Linked DNA regions of Homo sapiens: all the other regions are linked to region 1. Evidence: promoter capture Hi-C in 16 types of primary human blood cells and fetal thymus (Javierre and others, 2016). All regions are on one chromosome and are shown on one strand. The core of a region is centred on a gene start or on the middle of the fragment in contact, and the rest is flanking DNA. Distances in the headings are between cores, read along the strand shown.

The links. The method cuts DNA at HindIII sites, captures the fragments that hold promoters and counts their contacts. A CHiCAGO score of 5 or more calls a contact.
Region 2: a fragment that was not itself captured here is called in contact with the fragment with the promoter of CD59 in region 1 in 2 of 17 cell types (total B cells and naive B cells); the score reaches 6.5 in total B cells.
Region 3: a contact is called between a fragment that was not itself captured here and the fragment with the promoter of CD59 in region 1, in 3 of 17 cell types (M0 macrophages, total B cells and monocytes). The highest score is 6.8, in M0 macrophages.

Annotation. Positions count from the first base shown.
Region 1 is chr11:33,734,730-33,738,389 of GRCh38, reverse strand. CD59 (CD59 molecule (CD59 blood group)) reads left to right here and starts at 1,967. Exons shown (of 4, transcript NM_000611.6): 1 at 1,967-2,008. RefSeq lists a silencer at 1,849-2,318. The HindIII fragment of the contact is 13,854 bases long and covers 1,424-3,660 here.
Region 2 is chr11:33,389,081-33,392,709 of GRCh38, reverse strand. All of the region lies in intron 1 of KIAA1549L (KIAA1549 like), which reads right to left. Among named protein-coding and RNA genes, the nearest start is that of KIAA1549L, 15 kb to the right of the region's middle. The HindIII fragment of the contact is 207 bases long and covers 1,754-1,960 here.
Region 3 is chr11:33,336,232-33,340,278 of GRCh38, reverse strand. It overlaps HIPK3 (homeodomain interacting protein kinase 3), which reads right to left. Exons shown (of 17, transcript NM_005734.5): 4 at 3,085-3,204; 5 at 1,436-1,522; 6 at 745-929. Among named protein-coding and RNA genes, the nearest start is that of KIAA1549L, 38 kb to the left of the region's middle. The HindIII fragment of the contact is 6,169 bases long and covers 1-4,047 here.

The DNA.
Region 1 (3,660 bases), core at 718-3,217:
TCTGCAAACATACATCCCAAGGTAAAAGAGTAGATACACTATAGTCTCCCAGGGAGCACACACAGCCATGGTTCTCAGTCTAATCCTGGGACACCAAATTATTAGTGGGTAAAGGAAAAGAATCTCAAGACCGAATGGTCAAGAAACCATTCTAGGGAACCAAACTAGGAGAGAGTGGCATCTCAGAAGCCAAGCGTGTCAAGGAAGGAATAGCTAACAGGATGTGTGTAAGGTATGTACACAAAAGAGCTTTGGAATCCATCTTGGGAAATATACAGTATTAGCTGTTTTAAGGAGACATGCTTTAAATATCAAAGCAAGTCATCCTGATTTAAAAAACTCCCACTTGTATAGAGGAATACCAGGATTTGAGCACCACCAAATGGAACTCATTCCCTGACATCCCAAAGCCATCAGAATAACAGTAGAAGCGTCAAGACAGTTACTATATGATTTTCCCTGCAAGACATTCAGTAATCTATGATTCCCCCTGCTTAAATTTTATCTCATGCCTTCTTCCCTGACCAGTTCAACACAAGCAGCCCTGAGATGTAATATCTTCTCACCCTGACCCTCAAAGTGTGTCTCATGCTTTCTAACAGAGGCCATCCTCTTGGAGGAAGACTTGTACTTTTGGCCTGTAGCCCCACCCTCCCTCCTATGGCGTTCTTACAGTCAGTTCTGCAGTGAGTGGGACACTTTCCAAATATAATAGCAAATGGAAACTTCTAATTACATCTGCACATAAAACTAATGTTCCAAATGGTGGTTGCGGTTCTGGTGAGTGCTTATAATTTTTTGTTACCTCAGCATCCATTTTTGAATATGTTTAACTTTTAATAACAGAAGCAAGTCTCAGTCACCATTGACAGTTTCCAGTACTATACCCCACGCAAATGGCTCTAGCTGGTGGCCAGAGATAAACATGCAGTGATGTGATAACAGGGCACTACTGCAGCTTCAAACTCTGGTTCAAGTTCCTCCCACCTCTGCCTTTTCACCTGCTTGCTTTTAAATCCACCAGTTAGAGCTCTCCAGAGGAAACCTAACTGGATAAAGTTGCTGGCCCAAAGGTCCGTTCCTCCCTTCCCTCTCCCTGTTCTCCCTGATCTCCGTGTGTGTGTGTGTGTGTGTGTGTGTGTGTGTGTGTGTGTCCTCTAGGCAAGCTGTGTACCACCCAGGGTCCGTAAGTACTAAAAACTCTTAAACTTTCACACCGCTGTGTTATTGAAACCATGCCTACAATCCAGTCCCTGAGGCGAGGCCACCCTGAAGGGACAGACTCATGCAGGCGGATCCCCTGGTCTTGCTCTTCTGTCCCTGCCTCTGGTGGCTGCTGGGGAACAGTAGCTACCAGCTAAGTTGATAGAGACACTCGAAGAGGTTCATTCAAAACACTGGTCCCCGAGCAGCCCAGTAAGCTTTTAAACGCATAACATTTTGTTTGGGTCTCAAACAAGTCACAAGGCACGGATACGGATGCGGCTGTGGCTGATGGCTATTTGGATGCTGCCCAAGCCTCGCAGTAGGAAGCAGCTTCAGACTGCAGCAGGGCCGCATAGCCCGATAGCCAGGCCCTGGGGCACCCAGGGCACCAGCAAGACGCACAGAAACGTTTTGAAAAACATTTTAATATACTTAAAAAAAAAGTAAAAGGGAAAATCAGAAGTCTTTGGAAGTTTCCTACTGTTTTTATGTCCCATAGCAAATCCGAGGAGGACGCCCCAAACTTTCAGTTCCCTGGGGTTTTGAAGGTGCTCATTGGGTCCTGGCCACCCGGCCTTCTCAGAACCTGGGCCAGGAGGCTGAGCTCCGCGCGGGGGTGGAGGGAGAGGAGGAGGTTCCTGCCGAGGTGCGGCTGCGCGGTGCGGGAGCCGGGAGCCTGGGAGGGCAAGGGCATCCTGAGGGGCGGGGCCGGGGGGCGGAGCCTTGCGGGCTGGAGCGAAAGAATGCGGGGGCTGAGCGCAGAAGCGGCTCGAGGCTGGAAGAGGATCTTGGGCGCCGCCAGGTAAGAAGGCCCGAAGGCCTGCTGGGGTTTGGGTGAGCCGAGCCGAGGTGGCGGCGGCAGTCTGGGCCCGGGCGGAGGGTCTGTGGGGGCTACCCCCGTCCTCGCTTTCCACTCGACCCCTGCCGGGCGAGCCTCCCGAGGCCTGGCCCTTCCAACCCGTCACCGCGGCCCGGTGTCCTAGCCGAACGCTGGCTTCATTTTATCTACGAGGAAGGAGAAACGGGGAGCGCGCCCTCTCCCAGAAGCAGCCCCGTTACCCCCGTCGCGCCCCCCATTCCCTCGGGGGCAGCCTCGCACCCGGGCCCCTGCCATCGCTTTCGTCTCAAGGGAAGCTCTAGCGGTCCAGAGAAACTGCGCCGGGGGAAAGGCCAGCCCTCCGTGGTCACGGCAGTTCCTCTCTCCCCTCGCGGTCTAAATGTGTAATTTTGAAAAGCAGGTGTCGGGCGAAACGGACTTTTTTTTTTTTTTGAGATGGAGTTTCGCTGTTGCCCAGGCTGGAGTGCAGTGGCGCGATCTGGGTTCACCGCAACCTCCGTGTACCGGGTTCAAGCGATTCTCCTGCCACAGCCTCCTGAGTAGCTGGGATTACAGGCATGCGCCACCATGCCTGGCTAAATTTTGTATTTTTAGTAGAAACGGGGTTTTCCCATGTTGGTCAGGCTGATCTTGAATTCCTGACCTCGTGATCCGCCCGCCTCCGCCTCCCAAAGTGTTGGGATTACAGGTGTGAGCCACCGCGCCCGGCCGAAACGGACGTTTTAAGTACAACGTGATGTTTTGTTTTCTTGGGTCGGCTCGGGCCGCACCCTTCTTAGAGTCTGACTGCTGACTTTTCAAAAAACAACATTAACCCGGGAGGCTGAGGTAGCGGTGAGCCGAGATCGCGCCATTGCCCTACTGCCTGGGCAATAAGAGCGAGACTCCGCCTCAAAAACGAACAAAACCCACAAAGAACAAACAAAAAAAACCAACATTAAGCAGTGTGCCTTTTATGGCCGTTTAGTGATACCCAGGCTCTTCACTGGTCATTTCTGGAAGTATTTAACAGCACTTGATGGGTAAAACAATAGGCTTCACTTCACAGGGTGGTTGAGATGATTGACGGAAAGCGCTCAGCACAAACGCGGCGGCTGCTAATTATTTCAGGTACCCTGCGATCCCTGAGCAGTTGTTCAAGTTCTCCACTCCTGGCGGTTTACTCCCAGTTCCCTGAAGAAGGCACAGAGCCCCGAATGTTGAGGGAGATGGCAACGTTTGCCAAAATGTGGCTATTTACGTGGCAGTTTATGAAGGAGAGGCAGAAAGGGAGGCTGCCTCCCCTACAAGCCAAACAGTCCTAAAACTTGTGGCCTCTGTATTTTCACAGTGGAAACTAGAAACTGTTTGCTGAACTTAGCTGTAAGAAAAACATCCCATTAGCTGAGTGGCTTAGGAGATAAAAGCCTAAATAAAATGGATCTTAGGGTGAGAGAGTGGGGTGCCTAATGGCATTCATCTTTGACAGCTGCTGGTAGAAGCTCTTGAAAAGTAGAGCATGGAAAATTCTGGGCCACCTCTTTAAGAACCTCAGCCAAACCGCCACAGACATTGCCAAGCCCAGAAGTGCTTGAGGCTTTCTAAAGGCAAAGACTTCTTTTTACTTATGTCCTATA
Region 2 (3,629 bases), core at 608-3,107, 350 kb after region 1:
CTGCGTGATATAAAAACTAAACTATGGTGAAAAACAAAATCAAACCATGGTTGCTTGGATTGGGTGGGGCGAGTGAGAAGAGATGGGAATGTCTGCAGAAGGGCAAAAGAAAACTTACTTTTTGGGGTCATGGTCACATGCTATATCTTGACAGGGATTTGGGATACACAGGTGTATACATTTGTAAAAACTCAAGAAAATGTACTCAAGAGTTTTGTATTTCATTGTATGTAAAATTTACCTCAGAAAAAGAGTCATAAACAAATACTGAACCCTAATCAATGACATGTATGCGAAAGTATTTAGGGGTGACATGTACTGATGTCTGCAACTTACTCTGAATACATCAAAAATAAGATGAATTGATGGATAGTGGGACAGACAGATATATGATAAAGCAAAATGTTAATTGCACCATTTAGATGGTAGATATAGGGGTGTTTACTATATTGTTCTTTCTACTTTTCCGTGTGTTTGACAACTTCATAAAATGTTGGGTGGGCAGGGAAGGACTGCACTGTATAACTGATAATATATTTACATTGTAATCAGATCTAGTTTCAAATCCCAGCTCCACTACTTACAAGCAATGTGCCCTTAGGCCAGTTGGTTTTTACATGTTCTCTCAATCTCAACTTCCTCCAAGCAAAATGGGCAAGAACTATCTGACAGTGTCATCGTCATGGGGACTCAATAAGATTAAACCCTTGATCCAGTGACTAACACAATAATAGCTGTCTCATAAATGTTAGTCTTCTTATTCAGAAGTCTACATATTCACAAACTAGGACAAATCTTCAATAAAATGTGAAAGAAGAATCTTGTAAAAATTTTTCTCTTGCTATGCCCCATGGGAAATTAAAAGAATAAATTAATTGTGCTATTTTTATAGGTAAAGACACTGACCTTCCATCAGTAGGACACTGGGAGTTCCATGTCTAAGGAGGGTGAGAGATCCACACTGTTGACACTTCCTCCCTGCATCTCCCAGTGACCAACACGACCCGTTGTGAGAGCTGGCCAAGGTTAGCAACATCATCACATCAGGAGGAAAGATGGGGAATGTCGGCAGCATCTTAAGCAGCACACTGAAGCCAAGACTCCCAGTCTCCTTCTCAGATGTGCAAATGAAAAGAGCCAATCAGACAGGCCTTGAGATCTGTTAAAGCACCAGACACGCCGTCGGAAGTGGCAGTCACATGACTGTCTTGGCTTTTAGCATAATTACATGAACTGAGAGATGGCCTTATGATCATAAATAAAAGCCTCCAATTGAGACTAATAATGTGTATCCAACTAAAAGACATCTACTAGGGTACCACGTGGACTCCGCATCCCTAGGTTTGAAACATGATGACATGATGACAGCAAAGGAGGAGGAGCTGCTGACATCTGGAAGCAAAGAAAAATTTCACCTTTCCGTGCCAGAAAACCAAACCAATGCTCATTCAAGAAAATTAGGTCTGACGTCTTAAATTCAGTGAAAGGGTTAATTATATGTCACAAGTGAGACACCATAATCAAAGGAAATTGCAATTTTTTATAAAGCATCGCTGAGTGCCTACTAGGTTGTACCATTGGGACTATACACAGTATTTGAAGCTGTTTTAGACCACGCAGCAAATCTGACTCCCATCCTCTCTACCTTGAAATCTTATTCCCTTTTACATAATTACAAATGCAACTAGTTGACTGGCCTGTGAAGCCTAGGTTTCAAAGTCCTTGGAGACATCGTGCACCTACTGTGGAAGCTTCCCTTCCTCTAGCCCATATATGGATAGGAGCATTGGTGTGCCAGGGCCAGGTCACATCAGAGCTGAGCCAGTTGAGGCATCACTTCCCAACTCCATTATCATGTTAGTAGCTTGAAATCAGCCATGGTGGGAGTATTTATACAAGGAAAATTGGCCAACACTATCAAGCAGGCCACCTGTCATTGTTATCTTCCATAGAACAAGCTTACCAACATGTGAAGTTGTCTTTTACTGCTACGAAGGAGGAGACAAATGTTCAGAAGTTTGCCCTCCAAACTGACATTTAAAACTGACCTCTACCAAGGCCATGGTGAAAGGGGGATCAGGCTAAGAAGGCATTTTTATACCATGTGCCCCTTCTCCTCTGGCCTCTGCTGAATGGATGAGAGGTAGTTTCCCTAATTCCATTGGCCAGATTGCAGCAGCTTGATTCTCCCTCATGGGAATGTGGAACTGGGGCAGAGTCTTGATGGTGGGCGTTTAAACTAAAGAGGCTTGCCCACTCTGGCTGCAGTGAGCACCACAGCAAGTGAAAAGCCCCGTGCAAGGTTTATTGTCAGGGGAACCAAGAAGCTATGGGGAAGCAGAAAAAGCCAGTCTCCAGAAAGAGGCAGAAGGATGAACTGGGCCATAGGAAGAAGAGGCACTGGGCCCAGGAGATGCACAGCCAGTAACCTTAGCCTCTTAATATCCTGGAGGGCAATATCATGAAGCAGAGTGTGGGCTCTGGAATCGAACTGCCTGGGTTCCAATCTCTACTCTGCCAGTTAACTGGGAGACACTGAACCAGTTACTGTTAAGTTATTCTGTGCCTCAGTTCTCTCTTCTGAAACATGGGGATAATTGCAGAACCTACTTCATAGGGTTGGTATGAGAATCAAATGAACTGATACAAACAGTAAATGCTCAAAAGTATTAGCTGTTATTTCTATCAATTAATTATAGCATCCACGTGGCCTGGTTATATTTCATTCCTATTACGAATATGTCACCTGGGATTCCCCCATGGCCTGAGGCCCCATACTGGAGCTAGTTTTAGTTGTGTAGCTAGGTGATCTGTCCCCTGAATCACAGAATAATGTGCAAATCCCTGGACCAATGTGTGACCTTTAGCAAATCACTTTCTCAACCCTCTCTTAGAGTAGTGTGAGATTCAAATAGGAAAAGAAACTGAAAGCTTCGACAACCGTGAACTGTTGTACCAAACTCTGGAGACTGTTGTCTCTGCAGGGAAAAGAAAAGATATTACATTGGTCACAAGAATGGAAAACACTTGTTTAAAATGTGTTTATTGCTGGACTAGAGACTAGAGAAATATTCCCCATCCAACTGGAAAAAAAGGTTCAGTTTCCGTAGGGTTCACCAGCTTGATTCATACGTTCATCTCCAGTATTAATAAGATAATAACAGGAAACTGCCAAAGACAGTTCTAGGATGCTGATTTTTTAATACACTTTCACCCAGCTTAATTATGTTCAAAATAATGCTCCAAAGACTGATCCTCCCATTCTTTTCAAAACAAAGACTTCTTAACGGACAATGAAGGATACAAATCTAGAGATATTTTTATTCATCCCTTTTCAACAAGAACTTATAAGCCACACTGTCAATTTCAACACATTTTCTTCTCACACTTCCCATTTTTCTTCAGCCTTCTTGGGTTTGCTGTTGACACCTGGTAAATAAAAAGGCAAGTGACAGGGGAACGGCATTCATTACTAGGGACAGAGGTAGGCAGACAGGTCTGGGAGTCCCAGTTTCATTCTAGATACTTCATTCCATATTTCATGTGGAAAGACTGAAGTTAGAAGTATTCTAGGCTTCCCCATTTACTTGAACTGCATAAATACCAAAACCATTTTGTGTGTCTGACGT
Region 3 (4,047 bases), core at 1,192-3,691, 400 kb after region 1:
CATGGTGAAACCCCATCTCTACGAAAAATTTGCCAGGCATGGTGGCGTATGCCTGTAGTCCCAGCTACTCAGGAGGCTGAGGTGGTGGGAGGAGCACTTGAGCCTGTGAGGCGGAGGTTGTAGTGAGCAAAGATTGTGCCACTGCACTCCAGCCTGGGCAACTGACAGAGCAAGACCCTGTCTCCAAAACAAACAAACAAACAAAACACAAAGAATTTGTAATATTTAAGGCCTTTGGAATTTTAGTATATATTCTTCCCTACTGACCTATGATCTACTGACCCATGAAAAACCTCCTTTTCTTCAAAATGCAGGAGAAAAAGAGGAAAAAGGAAAGCAAAAGTTGTGGGGAAAAAAAAATGTAAAATGGAAGTTGCACGACTCAAAATATGATAGAACCTACAGTGTAGGAAAACTGAAATGTGACTTTAAAGAGAAAACTGTTAGCATTTCCTTTTATATATGCCTGGTTATTAAGGTAAGAAAGTCATGTATAATAAAAACAAAACCACTCAGTCTTATTTTTAGTATCGCATTTTGGAGAAGGAACACTGGACTGCAATTCAGACTTGGGTTCTAGTTCCCTGACACTTACTGGTGTATGTGAACTTGGTCAAGTTAGCTTAGCCTCTTTTGACTCAGGTTACTTGTGTTTAATGAAGAAAAGTAATTTCTCTGATGCAGTCATTTTCTACAGACTTATTTTTTTTTAGAACCACTTTAAAAGATCTTAAAGTAACATACTGGTTGCTATGAGGGAAATCTAGAAGATGTTTCATATTAACAAAAGGATGGTTCAGGGTCTCAGCTGGAGTAATTCTTAAATCTGCATCAATCAGCAACATTTTCTTCAACAGACTAACAAATTCTCTTCTATCAGCTTTCTCAGCCAAAAGATCACTTCCTTCCAAATCCATCACTGTGTTCACCTAAGAAAATCAAAATTTCAAGCCATCAAGTAAAAATAAGTCACAGAGAGTAGTATAAATTCCACCGTTAAAAAATAAAACAAAAATCACAACACAGGAGAGGAGAGGGAACTACAATTATCTTAAAACAAAGAAGAACAAATAATATTAACAAATCCTCAAAATGTGTTGAGGTACCAAATAGGATTCAAAGCATAAAAGAAGTTTTTAAAAATTAAACAAATATCCATTTCTAATGAAATATAGGGAAATCTGTTGGCTAGGATTTTTCCTTTCAAAGCAAAAACTTTTTTACTAAAGAACGAATAGGTAAATTAAAATTTTGATAACGACAAATGCAATTTAGTTCCTGAAAGGTTGAAAATAGAATCAGTTTCATTTGAAAAACTTAAAAACAGCATGGACTCTGTAGCCATTTAAAAACTGAGTAACATGTTTTGGGCCCCTTGGCATTCAAGTCTACCATCTAAGCATGTAAGATGAACAAATGTGGCTATGGTACTCACATGCGCTACATCATCCAGACTGTTGAAAATGTATTTTCTGGCTTCTTTAGACTTCATTCCTGTCTCTGCCTCATGCTCTTCCAATGTCTTATTGCATATATCAAAGGGAAAAAAGAATACATTATTACAAATTTCTTTAATCCTGGCACATTTAGTCTAATATATTAAATATTCTAAGGCAAATAGTAATTTCAAAAGAGACACTATCAAAAATGTATTTTTTAAAGTATACGCAAAAAAAAAATGAGAAGTGCTTGGTTTAGGCCAAGAAAAATATTACAAATGTAACAAACCCCATAAAGAAAATAACTAGGCCGGGCACGGCGGCTCACGCTTGTAATCCCAGCACTTTGGGAGGCCAAGGCGGGTGGATCACGAGGTCAAGAGATCGAGACCATCCTGGTCAACATGGTGAAACCCCGTCTCTACTAAAAATACAAAAATCAGCTGCGTGTGGTGGCGCATGCCTGTAGTCCCAGCTACTTGGGAGGCTGAGGCAGGAGAATCACTTGAACCTGGGAGGCGGAGGTTGCAGTGAACCAAGATCGCGCCACTGCACTCCAGCCTTGCAACAGAGTAAGACTCTGTCTCAAAAAATACAATAATAATAATAACTGTTTATGAAGTTAATTATTGAGGATTTACTGATTCCTCCAAAGATCCTAGCACACTTGGGATATGTAGTAAGTGGTTAGATTCATTCCCTGTCCTATAAAGTGTAATAATGTAGAACTGAGAAGATAAACACACAACACAAATGTAGTTATACACATAAAAGTTTTTTTAATTTAAGATGAATTAATAATTATGTTGCTGAATTAGAGAGTTAGTGAAGTTATTCCAAGAGGGCTTTCTTCTTAAAGAAGGAAGGGGGCTGGGCACAGTGGCTCACACCTGTAATCCCAGCACTTTGGGAGGCCAAGGCAGGCGGATCACAAGGTCAGGAGTTCAAGACCAGCCTGGCCAACATGGTGAAACCCTGTCTCTACTAAAAATACAAAAATTAGCCAGGCATGGTGGCAGGCACCTGTAATCCCAGCTACTTGGGAGGCTAAGGCAGGAGAATCGCTTGAACCTGGGAGGTGGAGGTTGCAGTGAGCCGAGATTACACCACTGCGCTCCAGCCTGGGCAAGAGAGCAAGACTTTGTCTCAAAAAAAGAAAAAGAGAAAGAGAGAGAGAAGGACGGGGCCAGGCATGGTGGATCACGCCTGTAATCCTAGCACGTTGGGAGGCGGAGGTGGGCAGTTCTCTTGAGGTCAGGAGTTCAAGACCAGCCTGGCCAACATGGTGAAACCCTGCCTCTACCAAAAATATAAAAATTAGCCGGGCATGGTGGTGCAAGCCTGTAGTCCCAGCTACTTGGGAGGCTGAGGCAGGCGAATTGGTTGAACCCAGGAGGCGGAGGTTGCAGTGAGCCAAGATGGCGCCACTGCACTCCAGCCTGGGCGAGAGAGAGAAACTCCATCTCAAAAAATAAAAACTAAAAAAATTGAAAAAAATAAAATAAAATAAAGAAGGGCCAAAAATGAAAATTCAAAAAAAGGAAGAAATATAGTAAAATGTAAATAGACATGGAAGGTATTATCCATGCATATGAGGCATCTTAGAAAACTAGTCTTCTAAATATTCTATTTTTTAATGAATTACCTTTAATCTCCAACCAGAATGAGACATATCTGTTTCTTTGCAAAAAAATCTTGTGGATTTAGTACCCACATTTAACAACTGTTCTCCTGGCAAACCTTGAGTCTGAGAAATGTATCGAATCTGAAAAATAATTTACAGAACAGAATAGTTTATTCTTTCATGTGACAGAACACTTAAGTCAGACACTAGGCTATATGTTAGGTCAGGTATGAAAATACATAGTCTATGCCCTCAAGAAATGCACTGTCTAGTGGAGAACATATATGGAAAAAATTATAATGTGGAATTATAAGTATCATAATAAATGCACGCTTGATAGAAAAGGCATACCTAAAGTAATTGTGGTCAGGTAAAATTCTAGAAGAGGTGGTCCTCAAGTTTGGTGTTAAAGGACAAATAGGAGTTTGCACTGAAAGAGTGGGGAGAAAAACTATGCCAAGGTTATAGTATGTGTAAATATAGAAAATCAAGAGAGAATAACCTCACATTCAAAGACTGGAAGTACAGAGGGTCACTAACAGAGAATGGTAAGAGATGAAATTGAACTAGCAGGTAAAGGGCTTTATCAGCAAATTAAGAAATTTGGATTATATGCCAGGAGGTAATAATGGGAAACCACTGGAAAAATTTCAGCAAGAAATTGACAGCTTACATTTTAAAGAAATGTCTGACAATGGGTGAAGGGATAAGGCCAGAGAAGAGATGAAGAGGGTCTGAACTGAGAGACTGAATGGGAATAGAGAGGAAGGAATGGATTCAAAAGAGATTTAGATTGATAAACACTGGGTGAATTACTATGGTGGGAGTTTGGAGGAAACACTTTTTTGAGACACTGATATATACACAGCTGTGTCTCTTGGGGAAGAGGCATGGTAGTTGATGGGCTCTCCCAAGGGTGATACTAAAAAACTCCAGCTTCAGGGCTTCTGAACTTAATATTTCTGTTTGAAACATTCTTCCCCT